Linked DNA regions of Homo sapiens: regions 1, 2, 4, 5, 6 and 7 are each linked to region 3. Evidence: promoter capture Hi-C in 16 types of primary human blood cells and fetal thymus (Javierre and others, 2016). All regions are on one chromosome and are shown on one strand. Each heading gives the region's core, a stretch centred on a gene start or on the middle of the fragment in contact. The rest is flanking DNA. Distances are from core to core; before and after follow the strand shown. Region 1 overlaps GART (phosphoribosylglycinamide formyltransferase, phosphoribosylglycinamide synthetase, phosphoribosylaminoimidazole synthetase). Region 2 overlaps IFNAR1 (interferon alpha and beta receptor subunit 1). Region 3 holds the start of PAXBP1 (PAX3 and PAX7 binding protein 1). Region 4 overlaps SON (SON DNA and RNA binding protein). Region 5 overlaps IFNGR2 (interferon gamma receptor 2). Region 6 overlaps DONSON (DNA replication fork stabilization factor DONSON). Region 7 overlaps TMEM50B (transmembrane protein 50B).

Evidence for each region. Contacts are between HindIII fragments. The CHiCAGO score rates a contact against its expected background, and 5 or more counts as called.
Region 1: a fragment that was not itself captured here is called in contact with the fragment with the promoter of PAXBP1 in region 3 in 1 of 17 cell types (total CD4 T cells); the score reaches 5.1 in total CD4 T cells.
Region 2: a fragment that was not itself captured here is called in contact with the fragment with the promoter of PAXBP1 in region 3 in 1 of 17 cell types (total CD4 T cells); the score reaches 7.1 in total CD4 T cells.
Region 4: a fragment that was not itself captured here is called in contact with the fragment with the promoter of PAXBP1 in region 3 in 1 of 17 cell types (neutrophils); the score reaches 5.7 in neutrophils.
Region 5: a fragment that was not itself captured here is called in contact with the fragment with the promoter of PAXBP1 in region 3 in 1 of 17 cell types (naive CD4 T cells); the score reaches 6.2 in naive CD4 T cells.
Region 6: a fragment that was not itself captured here is called in contact with the fragment with the promoter of PAXBP1 in region 3 in 3 of 17 cell types (monocytes, total CD4 T cells and total CD8 T cells); the score reaches 7.4 in monocytes.
Region 7: a fragment that was not itself captured here is called in contact with the fragment with the promoter of PAXBP1 in region 3 in 1 of 17 cell types (total CD8 T cells); the score reaches 5.0 in total CD8 T cells.

What each region holds. Positions count from the first base shown.
Region 1 is chr21:33,506,981-33,510,252 of GRCh38, reverse strand. It overlaps GART (phosphoribosylglycinamide formyltransferase, phosphoribosylglycinamide synthetase, phosphoribosylaminoimidazole synthetase), which reads left to right. Exons shown (of 22, transcript NM_000819.5): 18 at 333-470. Among named protein-coding and RNA genes, the nearest start is that of DNAJC28, 17 kb to the right of the region's middle. The HindIII fragment of the contact is 4,585 bases long and covers 1-3,272 here.
Region 2 is chr21:33,343,127-33,346,537 of GRCh38, reverse strand. IFNAR1 (interferon alpha and beta receptor subunit 1) reads right to left here. Exons shown (of 11, transcript NM_000629.3): 4 at 3,116-3,270; 5 at 2,862-3,003; 6 at 1,178-1,292. Among named protein-coding and RNA genes, the nearest start is that of IFNAR1, 20 kb to the right of the region's middle. The HindIII fragment of the contact is 3,215 bases long and covers 1-3,163 here.
Region 3 is chr21:32,769,469-32,773,136 of GRCh38, reverse strand. It overlaps PAXBP1 (PAX3 and PAX7 binding protein 1), which reads left to right and starts at 1,382. Exons shown (of 18, transcript NM_016631.4): 1 at 1,382-1,811; 2 at 3,195-3,323. The coding sequence starts at 1,469. EPCIP-AS1 (EPCIP antisense RNA 1) reads right to left here and starts at 1,037. Exons shown (of 4, transcript NR_024623.1): 1 at 829-1,037. RefSeq lists an enhancer at 726-1,715. The HindIII fragment of the contact is 7,946 bases long and covers 525-3,668 here.
Region 4 is chr21:33,560,937-33,564,583 of GRCh38, reverse strand. The region is part of intron 6 of SON (SON DNA and RNA binding protein); the gene reads right to left. Among named protein-coding and RNA genes, the nearest start is that of MIR6501, 12 kb to the right of the region's middle. The HindIII fragment of the contact is 9,715 bases long and covers 1-3,647 here.
Region 5 is chr21:33,434,386-33,437,907 of GRCh38, reverse strand. It overlaps IFNGR2 (interferon gamma receptor 2), which reads right to left. Exons shown (of 7, transcript NM_005534.4): 7 at 392-1,080. The coding sequence ends at 946. It also overlaps a transcript of TMEM50B not described here. Among named protein-coding and RNA genes, the nearest start is that of IFNGR2, 33 kb to the right of the region's middle. The HindIII fragment of the contact is 2,047 bases long and covers 785-2,831 here.
Region 6 is chr21:33,582,491-33,585,934 of GRCh38, reverse strand. DONSON (DNA replication fork stabilization factor DONSON) reads left to right here. Exons shown (of 10, transcript NM_017613.4): 4 at 1,167-1,345; 5 at 2,269-2,447. Among named protein-coding and RNA genes, the nearest start is that of DONSON, 4.5 kb to the left of the region's middle. The HindIII fragment of the contact is 4,141 bases long and covers 1-3,444 here.
Region 7 is chr21:33,451,319-33,454,547 of GRCh38, reverse strand. The region is part of intron 6 of TMEM50B (transmembrane protein 50B); the gene reads left to right. Among named protein-coding and RNA genes, the nearest start is that of TMEM50B, 27 kb to the left of the region's middle. The HindIII fragment of the contact is 255 bases long and covers 1,582-1,836 here.

The DNA.
Region 1 (3,272 bases), core at 125-2,624, 740 kb before region 3:
AGATCATGGCACTACTGTGGGTGGTCTCGCTAGGAAGATTTGGGGAGTAGGGGCAGAATACTGGCAGGCAGTCATATATATCCACCGTGCACTTCAAGATAGTGATGTGATCTGCAGCTTTTAGTTGAAGTAATTACATATGTTCACCTTTTGGAAGTTTTTATGAAAGAGTAGTGTTAAGTGATACAAATGTGTTGTTCATTTTAGTCCTTGCATTATCTTATTTTCAGGATAAAACATACCCTAAAGTTTTCATAAAATATTTTTCTTTCCATTATTCTTGTTAATTCACAATTGTTCTTTACTTATTTATGGATATGTTTGAAATGAAGGTTCCCCACGTGTGAAAGTCAAGAATCTGATTGAAAGCATGCAAATAAATGGGTCAGTGTTGAAGAATGGCTCCCTGACAAATCATTTCTCTTTTGAAAAAAAAAAGGCCAGAGTGGCTGTCTTAATATCTGGAACAGGTGAGATGTGGCTTCCCCTTCACTGTAGAGCTGTTGACTGCCCTTCCTTTCCTCCCCGCACTCTTGTGAGATTGTAAGGTTACTCTCGGCAGAGTCTAGGGACTGGGGGGAATCATGAGGGTTGTCTTTGTCTTTTCAGCATTCTTAGTCTTTCCACTTTTCTTAGGAATTTGAGACAGCTCCCAAAGAAAAAAGTAAAGGATGTCAGAAAGCTGGTTAAAGAGAAACCAGAAAAGATAGAAGCTACAGCTCATTTTGTATCATAGCTTTGTTGTTGAAAAGTCTGAAAACAGTTGAGGAATTTTTATTGTTATCTTATTAATTAGAAGAAGTTTATGTTTAACCTTTATGGATAGAGGGGTAAAGTAATAAGAGTATTGTATTCTCTCAGATGGATGTAGCCTGATTTTTTTCCCTCTATTGTAAGTAACACTGCTATGAACATTCTTGCAAATATTCAGTATGTTCTTAAATGCATATGTGATTTTTTTTTATTTGATGGCCAAGATCATAGTGATTCTTTTTGAGACAGTCTTGCTATGTTGCCCAGGCTAGAGTACAGTAGCTATTCACAGATGCAGTCATAGTACACTGCAGCTTCCAGCTCTGGCCTCAAGCAATCCTTCCGCCTTATTAGCCCCCCGAGTAGCTGGGACTGCAGGCATGCAGCACCACAACCAGCTCTGATACTTCTTCAGGATTCATTCCCAGAAGTTTAATTGCTTTACAGGTCGATCTTAAGGTTTTAATGTACTTTAGGCCCAAGTTGATAATAAAGCAAAGAAGCTATTGTAAGATGCAGCCATAAAAAAGAATAAAACCACATCATTTGCAGCAATATGGATGGAACTGGAGGCCATTATCCTGAGTGAACTGCCTCAGAAACAGAAAACCAGATATTGCATGTTCTCACTTATGAGTGGGAGCTAAACAGTGGGTACATGTGGACATAAAGATGGAAACAATAGGGCCGGGTGCTGTGGCTCACGCCTGTAATCCTAGCACTTTGGGAGGCTGAGGCGGGCGGATCACAAGGTCAAGAGATCGAGACCATCCTGGCCAACATGGTGAAACCCTGTCTCCACTAAAAATACAAAAATTAGCTGGGCATGGTGGCACACGTCTGTAGTCCAGCTACTCTGGAGGCTGAGACAGGAGAATTGCTTGAACCCTGGAGACAGAGGTTGCAATGAGCTGAGATTGCACCACTGTACTCCAGCCTGGAGACAGAGCAAGACTCCATCTCAAAAAAAAAAAAAAAAAAAAAGATGGAAACAATAGATACAAAACAGGGAAGTGTGGGAGAAGAGGTGAGGGTTGAAAATTTTTCTATCAGGTATAATGTTCACTATGTAGGTAATAGGTACACTAGAAGCCCAGTCCCCACCATTATACAACATTCCCATGTAATAAACAAGCGTGTGTACCCCCGAATCTAAAATTTTTTTTTTTTAAAGAAACTATTGTAAGAGTCATAGCATAGTGGTTTGTTCTTGAGAGGGTCAGTTTTTCTTGCTTAATTAAGCAGCTTATTTCTCATCAGTCAGTTTTAACATAATGTTATACTGTTTCTACTACAATGCTAGATCACAAGATACAGAATTTGTGGGAGCAATTACATATCCTAGGAGCAATTACATATCCTAAACCACGTCGTTTGCAGCAATATGGATGGAACTGGAGGCTATCCAGGAATATCTGTGCTTTTCACAATCTATTAATCCATTATCCCAAGAGGAAGGGAGTTTTTTTAATTTTTAATTTGTATGGGTACATGGTAGGTATATATATTTATAGGGTACATGAGATCTTTTGATACAGCCATACAACCTGTAATAATCACATCCCTGTAAATGGGGTATTCATCACCTCAAGCATTTATTCTTTGTGTTACAAACAATCCAGTTATTTTATTTCAGTTTTTTTTTGTTTTGTTTTTGTTTTTGTTTTTGAGATAGAGTCTCACTCTGTCGCCCAGGCTGGAGTGCAGTGGCGCAGACTCGGCTCACTGCAAACTCCGCCTCCCAGTTTCAAGTGATTCTTCTGTCTCAGCCTCCTGAGTAGCTGGGATTACAGGCACCTGCCACTATGCCTGGCTAATTTTTTGTATTTTTAGTAGAGATGGGGTTTCATCATGTTGGCCAGGCTGGTCAGGCTGGTCTTGAACTCTTGACCTCAGTATGATCCGCCTGCCTTGGCCTCCCAAAGTGCTGGGATTATAGGTGTGAGCCACCACATCCAGCCTCTTCCAGTTATTTTAAAATGTGTAATAAATTATTGTTGACTATAGTCACCCTGTTATGCTATCAAACACTAGATTTTGTTCATTCTAACTATATTTTTGTACCCATTAGCATCCCCTCTCCCCGTCTCTCCCACTACCCTTCCTAGCCTCTGGTAACCATCATTGCACTATCATCATGAGTTCAACTGTTTTAATTTTTAGCTCCCACAAATAAGTGAGAACATGTGAGGTTTGTCTTTCTGTGCCTGACTTATTTCACTTAACTTAATGACCTCCCGTTCCATCCATGTTGTTGCAAATGACAGGATCTCATCTTTTTTATGGCTGAATAGTACTCCATTGTGTGATGTACCACATTTTCTTTATCCATTTGTCTGCTGATAAACATTTAGGTTGCTTCCAAATCTTGGCTAGGGAGAATAAACATGAAACTGCAGGTATCTCTTTGATACACTGATTTTCTTTCTTTTGGGTATATACCTAGCAATGGGATTGCTGGATGATATGGTAGCTCTTTTTTTTAATTTTTGAGGACCCTTCAAACTGTTCTCCATAAT
Region 2 (3,411 bases), core at 307-2,806, 570 kb before region 3:
TTTATTCACTTCTGAAAGTGAGGTATACACAAAAGACTACTGAACAGTTTCCTGATTGGTTTGTGAGGTTATATATGCATTGTGGGGCACATATGCACATAAATGCATTTGCATTCTACCAGTCACCCTTGGTTCAAAATTAACACTAAAAGATAGAAATTGATCATAGCGGTACTTACACTTCCCTTCTCCCTCATTTTTTCTGTTTCTTTCCAGTTTCTTCTGACTTTTCCTTTCCTGTCTTAGCTATACTTGCCTTTGCTCTCTCTACTCCTCTGCCACCAATGTATATCTTTCTTTCCATCTCTTTTCTCCCCATAACCCATTTTTCCTTCTACTTAATTTTCCTCTTCTCTTTTCTCTATTCATCTCCTACAATTTTCCAATCAATATAAACTACATGCAGTTCTCTTTTATCAGCTTTTTAAAAATTTTAATGCTTAGAGATGGGGGTCTCACTATGTTGCCCAGGCTGCAGTGCAGCGGCTACTAGCAGGTGTGATCATACAACACTGCAGCCTCAATTCCTGGCCTCAAGTAATCCTCCTGCCTCAGCCCACTGAGTAGCTGGGACGATAGGCATGCGCCACTGCACCAGGCCAGTTCTCTTTCATTTATGCAGCGCCTGGACTTCATCCATGTTTAGCTAGCCTCTGCTCAACCACATAGAACATAGTTCTTTCCAACTTTCTTTCCCACCGAAGTATCTACTACAAAATTTTGTCAAAACCACTAAAGTAATAAAGAAAATAGGAAGGCTAATTTTTTGAATTGAACAAGTGAGTGGACTGAGATCATTTTAAGGACTCATGGAAGAAGTGAGTTCTTAGAAAAAGATCAGGGTCAACTGTCGAGTCTTCCAGATTGGGGAAATAACACATGCAACTAGTTACACTTTCTTTTTTTTCTTAAGCCAGTAAGAACCCCAGATATTAGAATCCATCTATTTTACAAGTGAAGAAATTGAGGCCCATGGAGGTTAAGCGATTAGCTCAATGTCATCCAGTTAGTTACTGGCAGAACTGGGGTTAGAAATGAGATTTCTCACGTTTCCAATATATCGTACCCACCTCCCAGTCGGTCATTCTGTGTGCAAGGACCTGGTGACTGATGCAGAGCGAAAAGAAGCATAATCAAAACAAACTGGGCAAAAGGAAATTTATGGAATGGAACTTACTGGAGCCACTGAACTTGAAAGGTCATGTTTGCATATGTATAATCCCATTTAAGAACATAGTTCTGATTTTGGACACTGACTTCTATATTTTCTGGTGGAGGTAGTTCATTTTCAACTAGAAGCCAAAGAACAGATAAAAAAAAGCACACATTTTTACTCAAGTGAGATAACTGGCAAGAAGATAAAGGCTCGCATTTTATCATTATAAGGTAATAGTTAAATATGGTTTGTATTCACACTATGTAATACTATGCAGCCATTTGAAAGACTACAGGCCGGGCGCAGTGGCTCACACCTGTAATCCCAGAACTTTGGGAGGCTGAGGTGGATGGATCACCTGAGGTCAGGAGTTCGAGACGCGCCTGGCCAACATGGTGAAACCCCATTTCTACTAAAAATACAAAAATTAGCCAGGCATGATGGCACACGCCTGTAATCCCAGCTACTCGGGAGGCTGAGGCAGGAGAATCGCTTGAAGCTGGGAGGCAGAGGTTGCGGTGAGCCGAGATTGAGCCACTGCACTCCATTCTGGGCAAGAGAGTGAGACTCTGTCTCAAAAATAAATAAATAAATAAATAAATAAATAAATAAATAAGTAAAAAAGAAAGAATGCAATAGATGGCTAAGATCAAATGAAGAACGTAATAGATCTGTATTGAGTGATATAGAATATCCCCAACACACTGGGTTAAGTAAGCAAGCTGTAAAATACTTCTAGTAAGATTTTATTTTGTAATTTTAAAAAACAAAACCCAAGAAACTGTGGGTCTGTGTATATGCTTACATAAATCCTGAAAAAAGTTGTGAAAGGATATACACAAACTGCTAAGCAATGCTTATCTCTAGTGAATGGAATTGGGGATAAGAAGGGAGAAGAAGACTTCACTTTAAACCCTTCCGTAATGTTTGATTAAAAAAAAAAGCATATGAAATTTACAATTAAAATAAACAAATCCCAGCTCCTGCCCTTGACCTTAATTATTGGAAAGATGTTACTAAATGTATCAGGATACTTTCATATTTTAACATTCCACTTACAAAGGTATGCTTTCTTGAACAATAACTTGTCTACTAGCAACTACTTCCCCACCTTTTCTTCCCACTTGCAGAACTCATAGTTCAGCTACCTCCTGCTTCATGTGGATTCTGAACAAATGAAAAGTTTTGTCATTACAAAATATTTGAACTTTTTTTTTTTTCTAAGACGGAGCCTTACTCTTTGTCCCCCTTGCTCCCGACTGGAGTGCAGTGGCGCGATCTTGGCTCACTGCAACTTCCACCTCCCAGGTTCAAGGGATTCTTGTGCCTCAGCCTCCCAAGTAGCTACCACTACAGGCGTGAGCCACCACGCCCAGCTAATTATTTTTAGTAGACACGGGGTTTTCCCATGTTGGCGAGGCTGTTCTCGAACTTCTGGCTTCAAGTGATCCAGCTACCTCAGCCTCTCAAAGTGCTGGGATTACAGGCGTGGGCCACTACGCCCAGCCTGAACTTTTAAGTAGAATTAATTTTCATTACTATTTGAGACAAAAATCCCAAGTAACATTTATTTTGCTTATGTAAATGTTACAATGTTTTTAACATATATTGACCTATCATGTAAACTTCAGCAATATGGGGAAGATGCCAAAATTGACAATCTGTTTATATATTTATTGAATCTAAAACAAAACATCTTCCTTACCTGTGGTCTTTATACAATGTACTGGACTATAGACACCAATTTTCCATGACGTAAGTAGTGCTGCTTTAACTTTTAGACAATAAGTAGTCTCTGGTGAGAGTTTATAAATTTTATGTCTGGAATAAATATTTTCAATCCTTTCCTATAACACAAATATAAGTTGGTTCTTTAAAAAAGTATAAAGTCAAATTTTAGGATTAATTCGCCTAATTTTTCTCTCACATCGATTAAACAGAGGTAAAAATAATGCTTACTTCTACACCTGAAGAGTTTTTCCAGATAACTAAGCTATATGTAAAGCTTAAACCATCCAAAGCCCACATAACACTATCTTTTGTTCCAGGAGAGATGTGTATCACTATTGCCTTATCTTCAGCTTCTAAATGTACTTCTGGAGGACCAATCTGAGCTGCAAAAAAATCAAAACAATTACTATGGAACTTTATTAATACAATGCCAAAACCTTCATTCAACAAATAATTCTGAGCACTTAATATGTGCCTGCCACTTCTGGGAGTTAAGAGCATACAGATAGGATAGAAAGCTGTAA
Region 3 (3,668 bases), core at 133-2,632:
GCACTCTAGCCTGGGCGACAAGAGCGAAATTTAGTCTCAAAACAAACAAACAAAAAACCAAAAAAACACAACCCTTCATATACAGATATGGGCCGATCTCCAATCTACGGTAGGCTAAAAATGCAGCTTACACACCATCTGTGTAAAAAGGGGAACACATTAAAATATGCATATTTATTTGCTTTTATGTTCATGGAACATCTTTAGAGGATCATAAGAAACTGTTAACATTGCCACTGAGGAAGTGAACAGCCTTCCAGACATGGGTGGATTTTTTTCACTCTACCGAATACCCTTTTAATTTCGAAACATCAAAATGAATTCGCATGCACAGGTGCATGCCCGAAGGAAAAACTTCTAGTTCGGTGATGAGATAGGGAAAGCCGGTGAGTTCAACCTTAGGCGCAATCACCCTGTGAAGGTGTGGCCAGCGAGGGCTTTGTCACGCAAGTCTGAGAACTGTCACAACCTTCCCCACCCCCTGCTCTATTTTCCTTCCACTTGTTTCTGAAACTCACTAAGCTTTGGAAAGTATTTAGTCATAGAATTGCTTGCAAACTTGGCATTCTTTAGAAAACACGGAAACACTTTTGCTTTCCTTGTTCCTGAAAGACTGGGGAACGGGGGACATCAAGCCAGGTAACATTGTATCATAACTGAAATTCAATGTCTTTGAAGTAACATTGTACCATAAATGAAATTCAATGTCTTTGAAGTAACATTGTATCATAAATAAAATTCAATGTCTTTCTAAGAGCTCTGTAGCTATAAAGCTGTAGAAATACAAAGTATTACTCAAGAATAACTAGTAATTACCAATAGTCACACCTCAGGTCAAAGTTTGGAGAGGACTATTCCACCTACTAGATCACACTTTCCTTCCCGAAAGCCGCTTCTCTCTCTGGCCTCTCCCCTCCTCCTCCTCCCTCATCTGTTTGGCGGGAGGCTTCCTCACATTACCGCTCCGCGTAAGTGCGAAGACGCACTGCAGCAGCGCCGTCTGAGGGACAACAGAGCCTACTCTTTCTTCTCATCTCTATGATCCTCTTTGTGACCTGTCAAACAACACCAGAGTTCCATGCTAATAGTACTCCACTCCGACAGAGAGCGATGCAAAGAGCCGACGCTCTCGCGAGAGGTGTGGGGCTCTCTCTCTCTCTCTCGCTCTCTCTCTCTCTCTCTCTCTCGCTCTCTCTCTCTCTCTCTCTCTCTCTCTCTCTCTCTCTCTCTCTCTCTCTCTCTCTCTCTCTCTCTCTCTCTCTCTCTCTCTCTCTCTCACTCTCTCTCTTTCTCCAAGTATTGAGAGCGCGTGGGAGCATAGGCGCATGCGCGCTCGTGGGGTGCGCGGTAGCAACAGAGGACTCGACCCGGCTGGAGCTCCGGAGAGCGCGCGTGCGCCGTCACGAGCTCGGCGCTGCCGGGGCCGCGGTGTGGAAGCGAGTATTCGACCGCCGTGCGGGCCGCGGGGATGTTCCGAAAGGCCCGGCGGGTGAACGTGCGCAAGCGGAACGACTCCGAAGAGGAAGAGCGGGAACGCGATGAGGAGCAGGAGCCGCCGCCGTTGTTGCCGCCGCCGGGCACGGGCGAAGAGGCGGGCCCCGGTGGCGGCGACAGGGCCCCTGGCGGGGAGTCGCTGCTGGGCCCGGGGCCGTCGCCGCCTTCCGCGCTGACCCCGGGCCTCGGGGCTGAGGCCGGGGGCGGCTTCCCCGGCGGCGCGGAGCCCGGCAACGGGCTGAAGCCGCGCAAGAGGCCTCGCGAGAACAAAGAGGTGCCCCGGGCCAGCCTGCTCAGCTTCCAGGACGAGGAGGAAGGTAAAGTGCGCGCTTCGGACGCCCTTAGACGGCCGCATCCCCGACGCAGGCCCCCGTCCCCCGCCCCCGTATTCTCTGGACGCCCAGCCCCGGAGCCCTGGAACGGAGTCCCCTGCCGTCCGACCGGCTGCGAATCTTCCCCAGCCTCCGGCCTTCTGCTCGGGCAAGGGACGCGTTCCCGCGCTGCCCCCAGCCTTTTCTTAACCACCTCCTCTGCCACGGGGCCGGAGCTCAGATCAGGCATTCAGAGTGTTTCAGGGGAAATTCGGTGTTCCCTGTCCTGCCTCTTTTCTGCCTGGCGTGTTTCAGGGCCAACTTGGTGTGGGTCCCCTGGCTGCTCTTGGCATGCTTTCCGAGCCCTCTGCAGGTCACTGCGCCCACACTTCTTGGATGCTCTGTCCAGGCATCCTCGACCATGAAGGCCGAGTTTGTAAAAAGGAATACTAGGAGAGGGAACAGAAGCCTGGAGTTGCAGCTCTGGTTCTGAGTGACCTTGGGCCAGTCCCTTGCAGTCGCTGAGCCTCAGTTTACCCATAAAAGTAATTAGGGGTAGCAGATACCCAGCCTTCTTCGCACTGACTTTGGGAACAGTGAAGCGAGACGGTGTAAAAATAGTAAAAGCAAGGTAGTTTCTCCAATTCCTGTGGGAGGCCAGGCTGCAGTGGTTTTAGATTGCTGATCTTAAATGAGCCTTAAATCTTTTCTTCTGACCATTTGAATGTGCATAACCCAGTTAATTCCATGTTACGAAAAAAGAAATTAAGTTTTGTAAATCTTGCATTTTTATTCGAGAGGTTTCCAGTAAGGTAGGTAGTTTATCTTTGGCATTTCTGTTACTCTTTATTTGGTTTGAGAGGAGTACAGACAGATTTTTGTTTTTGAGATACATGAGCTATTTTTTTTTAAGTATTTAGTACTTTTAAAATTTCAAATCAAAGAAAAGTGATTTGCCCTTACCTTAGCTTTAAAACCACTATGTCAGCTTGTGGTGGATGTAGTTACTCAGAATTGACAGCACCTTTTTATTTTAGATATTTTGTTTCGGATTCGTTAATAACTTGGTGATGTGGTTTTTCAGAAACATTTTGAATGATTTTTTCCCCTCTCAAATAGATGATTTAAGGACGACAATAATAGGAAAATTTTGTGAAGTTACATGTGCTATTCCTTTAAAAAGTCTCAAAAATCTCATTACTTCACAGTAATTTAGGAAGTTGACCTCTGTTTTTGAGTCTGTGACAGACTTGAAATAATTATACAATGATTTTGGCATATGAGTATATATATTTGGGATAATTTGGACAGCACGTAAGATCATGTGAAAGAAGGGAAAATATTTTCAGAAAATAGTTGCTACAGACTTCATTTAATTTCCTTTTTAAGAAAATGAAGAAGTTTTCAAAGTGAAGAAATCAAGTTATAGCAAAAAGATAGTAAAATTGCTCAAGAAGGAATATAAAGAAGATCTTGAAAAATCGAAGATTAAGACAGAACTCAACTCATCAGCTGAAAGTAAGTACCAAACTAATTGAATTCTTTTGAAATGACAAAATGAAAGCTCTTTCTCACAGTGATTTGCTGTATATCTTCTGAACTCATTCAGTGGACCCTGTGGTTGTCAAGGGCCCTTATTGAGTAGCAGTACAGTTCTGTTATTTAATTGTAACACAGATGCTTTGTAAATGTATTTTATAAGAAGACAGAATTGTTGCCACTGGAACATTTCTGCTGCAATGACTAGATTCTCTCACAGTTTTCCTACTTGTGTGCAGACTGCTGTTGAACAGAGAAAGAAGGTTTCTCATTTTAGCCTAAGACACAGGTTTATTTCTGTTTGAAGGAGTGTTGTGCAAATTC
Region 4 (3,647 bases), core at 6-2,505, 790 kb before region 3:
TGGCCATATTTTTATTTTTAATGCGAAAACATATACTCAAAGTAGAATGAATCAAGATTATCTTAACCTCATAAAGATCCTCAAAAGTTTACATCAAAAAGCCTGTTTCCAGCCTTTCAAGGTAACTCAAGTTATACAATGAGGCATAAAAAGCCAATACAATCCCCAAAGCAGCAATGTTTAAGGGTCAAACCCGATGTTACTTATCAGTATTGAAACACTCATAATACCACAGCTACCCTTTAGAGCAGCATTGCCCAGTACAACTTCTTACAGTGATCACTACTGAGCACTTGAAATGTAACTAGTGTGATTAAAAACCTGATTTTTCAGGGGCTGGTAACTGCTGTATTGGACAATAGAGCTTTAGAATCTTAACTGTCGTTTAATATTCAGAAACTGGAAATATAAGAAAGGCACCAAAATGATGGTAAAAGGCCCCTCCAAAAACTGGGAAAAAGAGAATCTTTAATCTGTAGAATACTATTACCAAGCTGTCACCAACAAGCCTTAGTTTCTACCAATACACTATAAGACTAGCATGTTACCTAGTGTATAAAAATAATTCTGTAGTAATATTCTAGGTATGATAATGGGGGAAATGTTTACTGACTTTTCACCTTTGCTCTAAAAGGTGAAATTTACATAAAAAGTGTCCTGAATTACAAATCTCAGGTAAATAAAAACTGCCCAAATTCTTCACTCTCTCTCCCTCAGCAAGAAAGCAGACAACTACTTCTTATAAAACCTACAAAGGTGTCTGAGGCATAATGAAATTACCATAATGCAACTGGCACCATATAACATGCATTTCATGACCTATATTAATACATTTAAGTGAGCCTTTTACATTTTTATTTCTCATTTAGGAAATTCTTCTAAATCCATTTACTCCTTTTGTTAACACAACTGTTGACATAAAAAGAACAATATTTTAAGAGACTTCTTAGAATATCAGTGAAAGGATATAAAAGAGCTAAAGATAATTGTTAGGATGGGGTGAGTCAGATAAGGAAAATACCTATAACCAGAAAATTATTTTCTATTATTGGTAATCACAGATATCTCAAAAGCAGGCATAAAAGGAAAACTTTAATTATAAGAAAATAGACCTAAGGTAAAAGCATCTGGCCTGTATATAAAACATGATTTTAGAATATTTAGCAAATATTAAAATATAAAGAGGTTAATGCATACAAGAGCAAAATGACAACTACAAAAATAAAAGCCACAGAATGTCCCAGTTATGTGTTTGGTTGGCTTTAAAAAGTGAATTACGAATCTTTTTATTGTATCATACAAAATTCTCTAGTGTATAATAGACTAAATGAAGTACAACGGGAAAACAAATAGATAACCTACTAAATGGTTCAGAGAAATTCAGCGTTAACCACATAAGAGAATCTAGGAAGGAAAGAATAACAAGGCTGTATATTACACATTCTAGCAGTGCCGGGACCTATGTGTTTAATTTCCAATTAAAATTTTCATTTTTCTCCAAGTTTTCCTATACATTTAGAGCTTATAAATTTAAAAAAATTGTAATTCCATTGGGATGTGGAAATATGATTTGATAAATACAAACCAGTAAACTGCTTAACATAAAGATGATCTTAACATCTAAGCATTCACTAGACCTTAACAATACTACCTCTGGACCCCTAAAACATTTGATTGATACTAAATCCATGAAAACTCCACACTAATAGTTGAGTAGTTACTACTCCACTTATGTCAAAGATTACATCCTAATCTTCTACTCAATAAACCTCTACTAACTTTATTACCAAGAATTAATGCCCCTGAGGACTATTTTTAAAATATTAGTTTTCCAACATTTTATTTCATTGTTTATAAATCAAATTCACACAAATACAGTCAAAGTTCTGTAGTCACTCCTTACTGAGGATGATGCTGGCTGGTTTCTGAGTATGAAGACGATGCTATGGCAGTACCGCACACAGTCTGATGAGTTGTTTTTCCATAAGAAATGAATTTATGCTGCTTCATCCACAATGTCTATCCATTCATACTCATGTCAAAGAGCATTCATATGCAAGACAATTGGTGGGATTAGGGATTACAGCAAAGCTAATTCAGCCCTCTTATGGAGATAAAATCTGTGATCTTTGCCTAAATGTTTTATGCTCAACAACAAAGAACCACAAACTCCATTTATATTTATTAAAATGAAAAAGGCATAGATAAAAATTACTATTCAGTTCAAAGGTTGACCATTTAAAAGAACTATCTCCTTTTACTCTAGAAGCCTTTATTTCAAACTCTAACAAGGAATCAAAAGGGTTAATGCTCCCACGAAGTGTTACCAAAAGTATTTCACAACATTGGTATATATAACACTAATTGTATAAATAATAAATTCATTACTTTTACCTTCTATATATACAATATAGTATATTTAGATGGTCACTAAATAACTGGAACTAAACATTTTAAATTGTGACTATTTCCTCTACACATTTTAACATTATTGCCAGGTAAAAGTGCAGATATGAAAGCAAAAGGCAATCCTGCCTCTTTGCCCTTGTATTTTGGGATTCTCTTCTTTAGAATTAATCTGTATGTTCTTTTGAGTCTAATCTTCTAAGCAGCTTAAAGAGGTTTTATATCAAATAGTTACATATATCGTCCCACAAGAGACATCATCTGCTTTATTCATTTAGCCCTTTGAAAAGAATTGTAAAATAATTTTACCTTCTAGGATTCTTCTTTGGTAAGAAAAAAAATTTTTTTAACAAAAAATAATGTCACCATTATTTGAGTACCTTTCTCTATCAACTTTTCCCACCAGATTTAAGAATAATTCTCCTCAACCTTTAATTAAAATCTGACAACTTTTGATGACAAACAAGGCTAAGGCACCACACTCAGTGTTAAGATTGAAAATGGCTGAGTACTAAATTTCAAATAAATAGACGCACACACACACTCTCTCTCTCTCAAAAAAGTGTAAGCATCAGGAGTTACTAAGCACTTTCCCCATGATTGAACCGAAGAAATTCAAAACAGTTATGCTCACTTATCTTCTCAGGAAGATCCCTTGGAATTCTGCAATATTTGTTAAGTCTTCAGTGGAAAATATTTGTCATACAGACTCTCTCCCTACCTATTTTTTTTTCCAACTCTTTTTTAAATGCTTAAACTGCAGGAAATTACTAAAAGCATACATATTAGGATTTCTAAGTAAGCCTGTTCAACCCTCTTATCATGGTTTCTATTCAGCTACTACAAGAAGATTAAGTCAGCTGCACATGTCAGTTAACCTTTCTCTCTTGAGATATGCAGGTAGCCTGATTGGGGGATTAACAACTCAAATGGTCTCACTAAAATATTATCCAAACCAACTATCTCCCTCTTAACTGGTGATGGCATAACTTGCTTCACTTGTTGAATCCCATGGGAATACAGATTATCACCAGTAACTGTAAGTTGCACTGGCTAGTTATCATGTCCAGCTTCATTGTACAGAACTTGTTCTCTCAAAATGCTGCAGGTCAAACAAACAAAAAAAAAGTGAAAATGTCAGCTGTGAATAGCTTGGGGAGAAAAGTACTGCTATCAAAAAGTTTCTGATTTGGGTTCTGTTCACTTTCTGATTTTATAAACAGGATTTATTTGTAGAATTG
Region 5 (3,522 bases), core at 559-3,058, 660 kb before region 3:
AGGCTAAAGCATCCTCCCACTTTAGCCTCTCAAGTAGCTGGGACTACAGGTGCATGTCATCATGCCTGGATAATTTTTGCATTTTTCATAGAGACAGGGTTTCACCATGTTGCCCAGGTGGGTCTAGAACTCCTGGCCTCAAGTGATCCACCCACCTCAGCCTCCCAAAGTGCTGGGATTATAGGCGTGGGCCACTGCACTAGGCCCTGGCCTTCTTTATAACCTTTGGAGGATCAAGTGACATCCATAGGAAGTGTTTGCTGAGTTCCCATGAGGCCTCAGTAGCTCTAGCAGGTGTTATTTAAGAAAAAACAAGTTTAGATTGAGTAATTTTAGAAAGCTGAAACTCTGCAGAAAATAGGCTACAATAAAGAAAACACTTCACATAGACTTTAAAAAACATGCACTATACAATCTTTTATTTCCAGTTTAAAAACAAAATCTTAAATTACTAGGAGTATATTTACAAGATTAATTACATTTTAAGCCAGCACACCATGGATGTACATGAAGGGCCACTCGGTGTCCCTCGCTGGGACAGGTTGTGTGACCTGCCCAAGGGGCTCCGGCTCATTTGCCAAAGTCAAGACGACGACCAGGTCTTCTGACTGCTCAGCCCAACCAATAATGAAAAAAGTATCAGAGATGTGTCATATCCATTTTGCTAACAAGCAATTACATGCCTTTTTAGTGTTTAAGAGAAGCCTTAATTTTCCTGGGATATCTCCGTAAAATCATTCTGGAATTTGATTTTGAAAATTCTTTAAGAAAAAAAAAAAAAGCTTGTCACCCCCATGAGACCTGCTGTCTCTCATGTCTGCAGGGACAGGCCTTTTAGAGGCAGCAAAAGGGAATACTGGTCTCTGGAAAGTCCAGACAGAACTCTAGCAGCTCCGATGGCTTGATCTCTTCCAGGGAGCCAGTGGGCTAGGCCCATGCTTTGGTTCAAAGCGTTTGGAGAACATCTTCTTGCTCCTTTTCCGGAAACGAGATAATGGACACAGAGTCCCAGACGTCATCCTTTGGTGAGCTGTCCTTGTCCAAGGCCTCTAAGATGGGCTGAGTTGGGTCTTTTAAATACTTGAGGAGGTTGGAAAGCAAAATTGTAATTAGTTTACCAGTTCAGTATACCAGACCTTTTAACTTTAGTTTTTGTTTTTATTTTATTTTTATTTTTATTTTTTTTTTGAGATGGAGTCTTACTCTTGCCTAGGCTGGAGTATAGTGGTGTGATCTCAGCTCACTGCAACCTCTGCTTCCCAGGTTCAAGCGATTCTCCTGCCTCAATCCTCCAAGTAGCTGGGACTACAGGTGCCCACCACCTTGCCTGGCTAATTTTGTATTTTTAGTAGAGACAGGGTTTCACTATGTTGGCCACGCTGGTCTCAAACTCCTGATCGCAAATGATCCACCCACCTTGGCCTCCCAAAGTGCTGGGATTATAGGCGTGAGCCACTACGCCTGGCCTACTTTAGTTTTAATTGGTATAGTTATTTTATTCAGATATAAGTTGATTCTGTCCACCAATGACATAACTTATTTTTCTTTTTATTCAACAATGAAACAATTTTTTTTTTTTGAGACGGAGTTTCACGTTGTTGCCCAGGCTGGAGTGCAATGACACGATCTCATCTCACTGCAACCTCTGCCTCAGCCTCCCAAGTAGCTGGGATTACAGGCATGCACCACCACACCCTGCTAATTTTGTATTTTAAGTAGAGACGGGGTTTCCCATGTTGGTCAGGCTGTCTCGAACTCCTGACCTCAGGTGATCCGCCCGCCTCGGCCTCCCAAAGTGCTGGGATTGCAGGTGTGAGCCACTGCACCCGGCAACAATTTTTTATTGTTGTTGAGTCAGTCTCTTTTTCGCCCAGGCTGGAGTGCAGTGGCGCGATCTCGGCTCACTGCAACTTCCGCCTCCTGGGTTCAAGCAATTCTCCTGCCTCAGCTTCCCAACCAAGTAGCTAGGATTGCAGGCGTGCACCACCACGGCTGGCTAATTTTTTTTTTTTTTTTTTTTTTTTTGAGACGGAGTCTTGCTCTGTTGCCAGGCTGGAGTGCAGTGGCGTGGATCTCAGCTCACTGCAGCCTCCGCCTCCTGGGTTCAAGTGATTCTCCTGCCTCAGCCTCCCAAGTAGCTGGGACTACAGGCGCATGCCACCATGCCTGGGTAATTTTTGTATTTTTAGTAGAGACAGGGTTTCACCCTGTTGGCCAGGATGGTCTCGATCTCCTGACTTCATGATCCACCCACCTCGGCCTCTCAAAGTGCTGGGATTACAGGCATGAGCCACCTCACCCAGCCAACAACTTCTAATAGTTGAATACTCCTTACCCCTCATCTCAGTAATCACTTTAATACTCATCCCAGGGCTGACCATGTTAATATGCTGAGAGTTTAAAAGGGCAAAACTCAGGAAAAGCAAGTTTTGTTTTTTTCTTCTGATTTTCTGATTGGAAGAAAAGCAAGTTCTTCCTTGCAACCCTCAGTGTAGGCCTGTGGGTTATTAATCTTAAGACGTCTCTAAAATTGTAACCTTTCAGTGAAGGAGGGACTGGGGGCTCTTGTTCAGCTGTGATGGGGAAAAAGAGGGCAAGTTCACAAGCATTGGTCTCAGGCACTCCTCCACCCCTCCCCTTGCACCAGCGCACAGCAAGCAGAGAATCTGGGAGCGAGGGCCTTAGGCCTTAACATATAAAGGGGTGTTTCCCAGCGATTAATTTCCCTTTTGCTCCCGCAGGCTTTAGGCTTAGCCATAGATTCACCAAGTTACCAAGAATCTAGTGTCTAGCTCTTGGAAATGCTGAAAGATACTGGAAGACAATAAGCTTGTAGCTGACTGACTGAAAGAGGAACAAAACCAAAACATGTACCCTTGTGAAACCCCAGAATTATAAGTGAAACATGATTCACTGTTCCCATGTAACTCAGAGACCTTTGGCGGATGTTCTTTATGCTTTCCTAGAAAAGTGAACTGACAGGCCTGTGTTTTCTGTTCATGTCTCAGAGGAATGACTCATAGTATATTCATGTACTGGGGCTCAGCTGGTAGTTCTACCAGGAGAGAGAGAGATTATTACTGCAAGTAAGATTCTGAGACCTGTTAGGAGCTGTGATTTTGTGACAATATTAACCAGGGAGGTTCTAGTAGGGAATCTGTATACTGCCTGTGTACCTACAATACATCATGGCAGATGAAGGAACAAGTGACTAGGGTTCTTTCTGAAAGTGCTGCTATGTTTCTGCAGACTTGGACCTTATCTAACCTCTGTTCATCCCACATGTAACTGAGTAACATTCTGCTTCCAACACCTTTACTCTAGGTTTACCCAAGAATAATGTGAAGCCTCCAGAAGCAAATGCTTTTTATTTATTTTATTTTTTTGAGATGGAGTCTTGCTCTGCCACCCAAGCTAAAGTGCTATGGTGCGATATTGGCTTACTGTAACTTCCACCTCCTGGGTTCAAGCAATTCTCCTGCCTCAGCCTCTCATGTAGCTGGGATTACAGGCGCCCACCAC
Region 6 (3,444 bases), core at 240-2,739, 810 kb before region 3:
AGTGTGAAATGCTCTCCTTTGCAAAATAGCAGATGCTGCCTTCCATTAAGTTTTTCTTTGGAAATTTAAAGATACAAAGACAGGAAGTTTTGTCTTTCCCAGATGGTGCTTATGGTGCTTTCATACCTTTTTTTTTTTTAAGTCAGATTGAGTAACTGCTCATACATTTAGAGACTTGTCTTGCAAATTAATCAGTGTTGCAGGCAAGAATTGTTAAATTATTTTTCTCTAAGGCTTTTTGAGAAAGAAAATACAAAGAAAGAAGTGAAAAGCAATTGGGTGGGATTGCAAGGGCTGATGGATTTACAGATTTTCTTACCTGTATAAGAAAAATTTTATGAATTTTGTGGAGTTTGTGAGTTCTAGAATGGTTTTAGAGATATACATTTTGATTATTTTAAAGCATCAACTCAAAACTAGGAGGCTGGGCACAATAGCCCATGCCTGTAATCTCAGCATTTTGGGGGCTGAGGTGGGGGGATTGCTTGAGACCAGCCTGAGTAACGTAGTGAGACCCCATCTCTACAAAAAAAAAAAAAAAAAAAAATTAGCTGAGCATGGTGGTGGGTGCCTGTAGTCCCAGCTACTTGGGAGGCTCAGGTAGGAGGATTGTTTAAGCCCAGGAGGTCAAGACTGCAGTGAGCTCTGATTGTGCCACTGTACTCTAGCCTCAGTGACAGAGTGAGACTATCTTAAAAAAATTTTTTTAAAGTCTCAAACTAGGTTAAAAAGGATTACCCTGAAAAAGGTCTTGGTATATTATACATCTTTTCAATAAATAGATTAGGATGATTTGTGATTTGCCGTATCAGTGTTTACTGGCTACTTTTAAAACAGCCTTTTGGAGAGAGGGTTGGATGTAGTGTTACCTACACACACATGCCCACCCCTATTCCTCATGATAAAAAAGGTAGTCATTGTCCTTAAGGATGGTAGAAACAGGAAAATGTTCCCATCTATGTTTAAATGTTCTGATACTACGGCTTACCATTACATCTGGCTCAAATAAGGATAAACTATGTTTTCGTTCCTATAACAATTATTAATGCTTTCCTATAGAAAGCAATAAAGATTCTTAGACCTAAGTGTTTGGTAAAGATTGTCTTTAATAAAATTCTCTATTTCTCAATGGGCAAAAACTGCCCACTGTCACCTTTGGATTTTAGGATCCCAAACTCTCCTCTGAGCTCCGTTGTACCTTCCAGCAGAGCCTTATCTATTGGCTCCACCCTGCTTTGTCTTGGCTACCACTGTTCCCTCGTATTGGAGCTGATAGAAAAATGGCTGGAAAGACAAGTCCTTGGTCAAATGATGCAACCCTGCAGCATGTTTTAATGAGTGACTGGTAAGATTAGTAAGAGAAACTTGTATAATTCAATAGTGAATTTTATTTTAGCAGCATTCTCTATCATATTTGTGACTGGATACGTTAATGGCAGAAGGGTATCTAGATCCTTGTGAATTTTATCTGAACCTATTAATAACCAACATATAAACTGTTTACTTTTTTTTTTTTTAGCTGTTACTCATTCTTTACCCAATTGTGGTAGAATGTATATAAGTGTTGGTTAAATATATACAGACAGGCAGGCCGGGTGTGGTGGCTCACGCCTGTAATCCCAGCACTTTGGGAGGCCGAGGCAGGCGGATCACAAGGTCAGGAGATTGAGACCATCCTGGCTAACACGGTGAAACCCTGTCTCTACTAAAAATACAAAAAAAATTAGCCTGGTGTGGTGGCGGGTGCCTATAGTCACAGCTACTCGGGAGGCTGAGGCAGGAGAATGGCATGAACCTGGGAGGCAGAGCTTGCAGTGAGCCGAGATCGCGCCACTGCACTCCAGCCTGGGCGACAGAGCGAAACTCCGTCTCAAAAAAAAAAAAAAAGTATATATATATATATATATATATATATATATAAACACGCAGCCCTAATTCTTTAATGCTACTTCTTGTCAGTCTCTGCTTCCTTTTTTAGCAGCAGCTCAGAGAAAGTCAGCAGGCAATTCTCAATTAAGTTTTGTTTAAAGAAAAAATAAGTGTTTAAGTGGTATACACTATTTGTTAAAGTATTGAGAAGTCATCAGCGAGTCCTCATAACCAATTTCAGTCCTTTAAAGCTAAGTCATACGTAACCACAAAAATTAAAACCATTATCTAAAATATTTGTGTTGTGTTTTAAACCAGGTATCAAACTGAATTATTCAGAATTATAAACATTGCATTAAATGTTTAATAATACCTTAAGAAAATTTTTTTACTTCATAGGTCTGTGAGCTTTACTTCTCTATATAATTTGCTGAAGACAAAACTTTGCCCCTATTTCTACGTTTGTACCTATCAGTTTACTGTCCTGTTCCGAGCAGCAGGATTAGCTGGAAGTGACTTAATCACAGCTCTCATATCTCCAACAACTCGAGGTTTAAGAGAAGCTATGAGAAATGAAGGTAAAAGTTTAGGTTTAAAGTGAGAATACTATACTATATAGTAAACCTATTTTGGCCTAAAAGCTATTTAAATTTAAAATGCCTTTTACCAGTTGATTAGCAACATTAAGAAATATATTATTTCTTTATTTCTGGCTTTTTTTCCCTCCCCCACAATTATTTAATCCAGCAGTCCGCAAACTTTTTGGCACTAGGGATCAGTTTCATGGGCAGTGAGGAGGATGGTTTCGGGATGAAACTGTTACACATCAGATGATCATTCTTTTTTTTTTTTTTTTTTTTTTTTTGAGATGGAGACTCGCTCTGTCACCCAGGCTAGAATGCAGTGGTGCAATCTCGGCTCACTGCAAGCTCCGCCTCCTGGGTTCAGGCCATTCTCCTGCCTCAGCCTCCCGAGTAGCTGGGACTACAGGTGCCTGCAACCATGCCCGGCTAATTTTTTGTATTTTTAGTAGAGACGGGGTTTCACCGTGTTAGCCAGGACGATCTCGATCTCCTGACCTCGTGATCCGCCCGCCTCGGCCTCCCAAAGTGCTGGGCTTACAGGCGTGAGCCACCGCGCCCGGACAAGATCATCATTCTTATAAGGAGGGCACAACCTAGATGCCTCACATGCACAGTTCACAGTAGGATTCGTGCCCCTGTGAGAATCTAATGCGACCACTGATGTGACAGGAGATGGAGCTCAGGCAGTAATGTTCACTCGACAGTCGCTCACCTCCTGCTGTGCAGCCCGGTTTCTAACAGGCCACAGGCCAGTACCAGTCCACAGTCCAGGGGTTGGGGACTCCTGATTTAAACTGTTCCTTCCACATAGTGTTCTCTGATCTCTAAAATAAAACACATATTGGGCCAGATAGTCACTATCTGAATATACTCTTCTAGAAATTCTTCTATAGTACCAATTACCCCTTTAATAACAAAATTTTCAAACTGAGTAAACCCATTAGTGGATCATGAAATCTACTTAATGGGCCCAATCAGTACTTTTTCAAAA
Region 7 (3,229 bases), core at 460-2,959, 680 kb before region 3:
GGGTGGATCATCTGAGGTCAGGGGTTCGAGACCAGCCTGGCCAACATGGTGAAACCCCATCTCTAATAAAAATACAAACATTAGTCGGGCATGGTGGTGTGTGCCTGTAATCCCAGCTACTCGGAAGGCTGAGGCAGGAGAACCACTTGAACCCAGGAGACACGGGGGTTGGAGTGAGTCGAGATAGTGCCACTGCATTTCAGCTTGGGTGACAGAGCAAGACTCCATATCAAAATAATAATAATAATTAATACATAGTATGCATATTATATACAAAACCTGTTGGGAAATTCTGTTTTCTGAATGCCCTTTTAAGAAAAGTTAAAGTAAGTGGAAAAATAAACCAATATTAAAAGTATTTTTTAGGGGCAGTCTTCTAAAATATCCCCAAAATGAAGTCCATTCTATGCTTTTTAGAATGAATGTCTTTTTTTTTTTTTTTTTTGAGCTGGATTCTCGCTCTGTTGCCCAGGCTGATGTGCAGTGGTGCAATCTCAGCTCAATGCAACCTCTGCCTCCCAGGCTCAAGCAATTCCGTGCCTCAGCCTCCCAAGTAGCTGGGATTACAGGCATGCACTGCCACACCCAGCTAATTTTTGTATTTTTAGTAGAGATGGGGTTTTGCCATGTTGACCAGGCCGGTCTCGAACTCCTGACCTCAAGTGATCTGCCCACCTCAGCCTCCCAAAGTGGTAGGATTACAGGTGTGAGCCACCATGCCCAGCCTAGAATGAATGTCTTTTAATGTCAACATAGGATATTTAGGTATATATTTATAAAATTTTATCTGCCTCTGTCCCCATCCCCCATAAATCATTAAGTAACTTCTAAGCCTTGAAAAACTTTGCTTTTGTCACTGGTTTTAAGTAATTTGATTACGATGTACTGTGGTCTAGTTTTCTTGATATTCCTTCTGCTTGGTGTATATTGAGTTTCTTGGATCTATAGGTTTATAGTTCATCAATAAATCTAGATTCTTCTCAGCCATTATTTCTTCAAGCATTTTTTGTATCCACTGCACCCTCCCTCTGGGATTTCAATTACAGGTTATAATAGGCTGCTCGAAGTTGTCTCACAGCTTGCTAATGGTCAGATTTTTTTTTCCTGTTTGTGTTTCAGTTTGGATAGTTTCTATTGTTACATTTTAAAATTAATCTCGGCTGGGCATGGTGGCTCACACCTGTAATCTCAACACTTTGGGAGGCCAAGGCGGGTGGATCACTTGAGGTCAGGAGTTCGAGACCAGCCTGGCCAACATGGTGAAACCTCATCTCTACTAAAAATACAGACATTAGCTGGGCATGGTGGTGCATGCCTGGAATCCCAGCTACTCGGAAGGCTGAGGCCAGAGAATCACTTGAACCCGGGAGGCTGAGGTTGCAGTGAGCTGAGATCACACCATTGCTGAGCAACAGAGCGAGACTTCATCTCAAAATAAATAAATACATAAATAAATAAAATTAATCTCTCTATTGTCACTTTGAAGAATTAAATAAATTAATCTCTACTTCTGCAATGTCTAATCTATGCCATCCAATGATTTTTTCATCTCAGACATTGTATTTTCTCTCTCTAGAAGCTTGATTGGGTCTTTAAAAATATTTCTGATGTCTTCCCTTAACATGCTCATGCCCTCTTCCACCTTGAACACACAGAGTATATTTATAGCTATCTCAGGGTCCTTGTCCAATTGTCTGTGTCATTTCTGCATCTGCTTCTACTGATTTTTTCTGCTTCTGTTTACTCTTCATTTTGGACCTATTTTCCCTTATTTGGTGCTTTGCATACAATTTGTTGGGACTGGATCTTTGCTAGTCCTTTAAATGTTTTTAAGCTTTGTTTTGGGATGCAGTTAGGTGACTCAGAAACAATCAGAAACAATTTGATCCTTTTATGTCTCTTAAGCTTTGTTATAGGCAGGACCAGAGCAGCTGTAGCCCAGGACTGATTTGTCCCCCTACTAAGGCAGTCATACCCTTTGAGTGTTTCCACTCTCTGATGCTTCATGTATTCCGAGGTTTCTCTACTCGACTTGTGAGAGTATGAACTCTCTTCCAGCCTTGTGGTAGCTCTGGGACATGTTCTTTCCAGTGGTTCTTTCCTTCCCTTGGGTAGTTTCCTCTTATGTATAGACTCTTCAGTACTCAGCCACAGACTGAAGGAGCACCCCCTGCAGATCTCCTGCGTTCCCTCTGTGTGGCTGTCTGTACGCTGCATGGCAAACTCTAGCCATGTGGTCTCCCTCCACTCTCAGACCACCATGCTCTACCTGGATTTCGCCTTGTGGCCTTGACACTCCTGGTTTTGAAAGATGTTTGGCAGTTTCTGCTGTCTTATATGTCAAAGACATGTGACTGACAGCCTTCTGGGGATATGGTAAGTTGTTATGAAGACATTTTAGGCAGTCTTTAGAGATTAAGTTCAGATTCAACACTTTGTGGTGGTAGATGAATCCACTTAAATGACAATTGGATGAACAGAAACCTTGTATGCTCAGGTGGACATAGTTGACAGCTGTGTCATCTATGTGCTCTGCCCAGAGGCTGGCAAGTTATCAGGCAGCCTGTATGCTTCCTGTGTGCTGGACCTGTTCTAAGCTCTGGGGTACAACCTCTTTTATTTACATCTCTGGTCACTCCTCTGTTTTCCTTGCAAGCTGATCCTCCACTCCCTGCCTACTACCTTTTGAAGTCTCTTAAAGCTGTTCTTGGCCTTAAGAAACTCCTTGTTATTTTTCTGTCCCTGGGTGAACTCATGTGTACTTAGGACTCCAATTATTGCTTATATGCCAGTGAGTCACAGATGTCCCTTTCCAGGCCTAAACCGTATATCCAGATTCCTACTTCACATCCCTTCTTGGGTTGCTGACATTTCAAATCCAAAACATTTAGTATGCCCACAGCTCAACTCATGGCCCTGGAGTGTCCCATCTCTCTGCTCCCGCCTCCTTATCCTCTCTCACTTTGCCGAGATAATTCCCCCTCTTCTTTTGGATCTCAATTCAGTCACCACTCCTCAGGAAAACCTTTCCTGACCTCTCTAACTAGGTCTGATCCTTATGTTTCACTCTGAGGATACTGTGCACCTCTCATTTATAGCATTTTTTTATAGGTGGAATTTTATATTTATTTGATTGTCTCCTTATTAGACCCTTAGCTCCATTAGGGAGCAAGTTTGTCTGGACTCAGTCTCACCCCAGCACTTAGGTGCTTGGTACGTAGCCACTTTT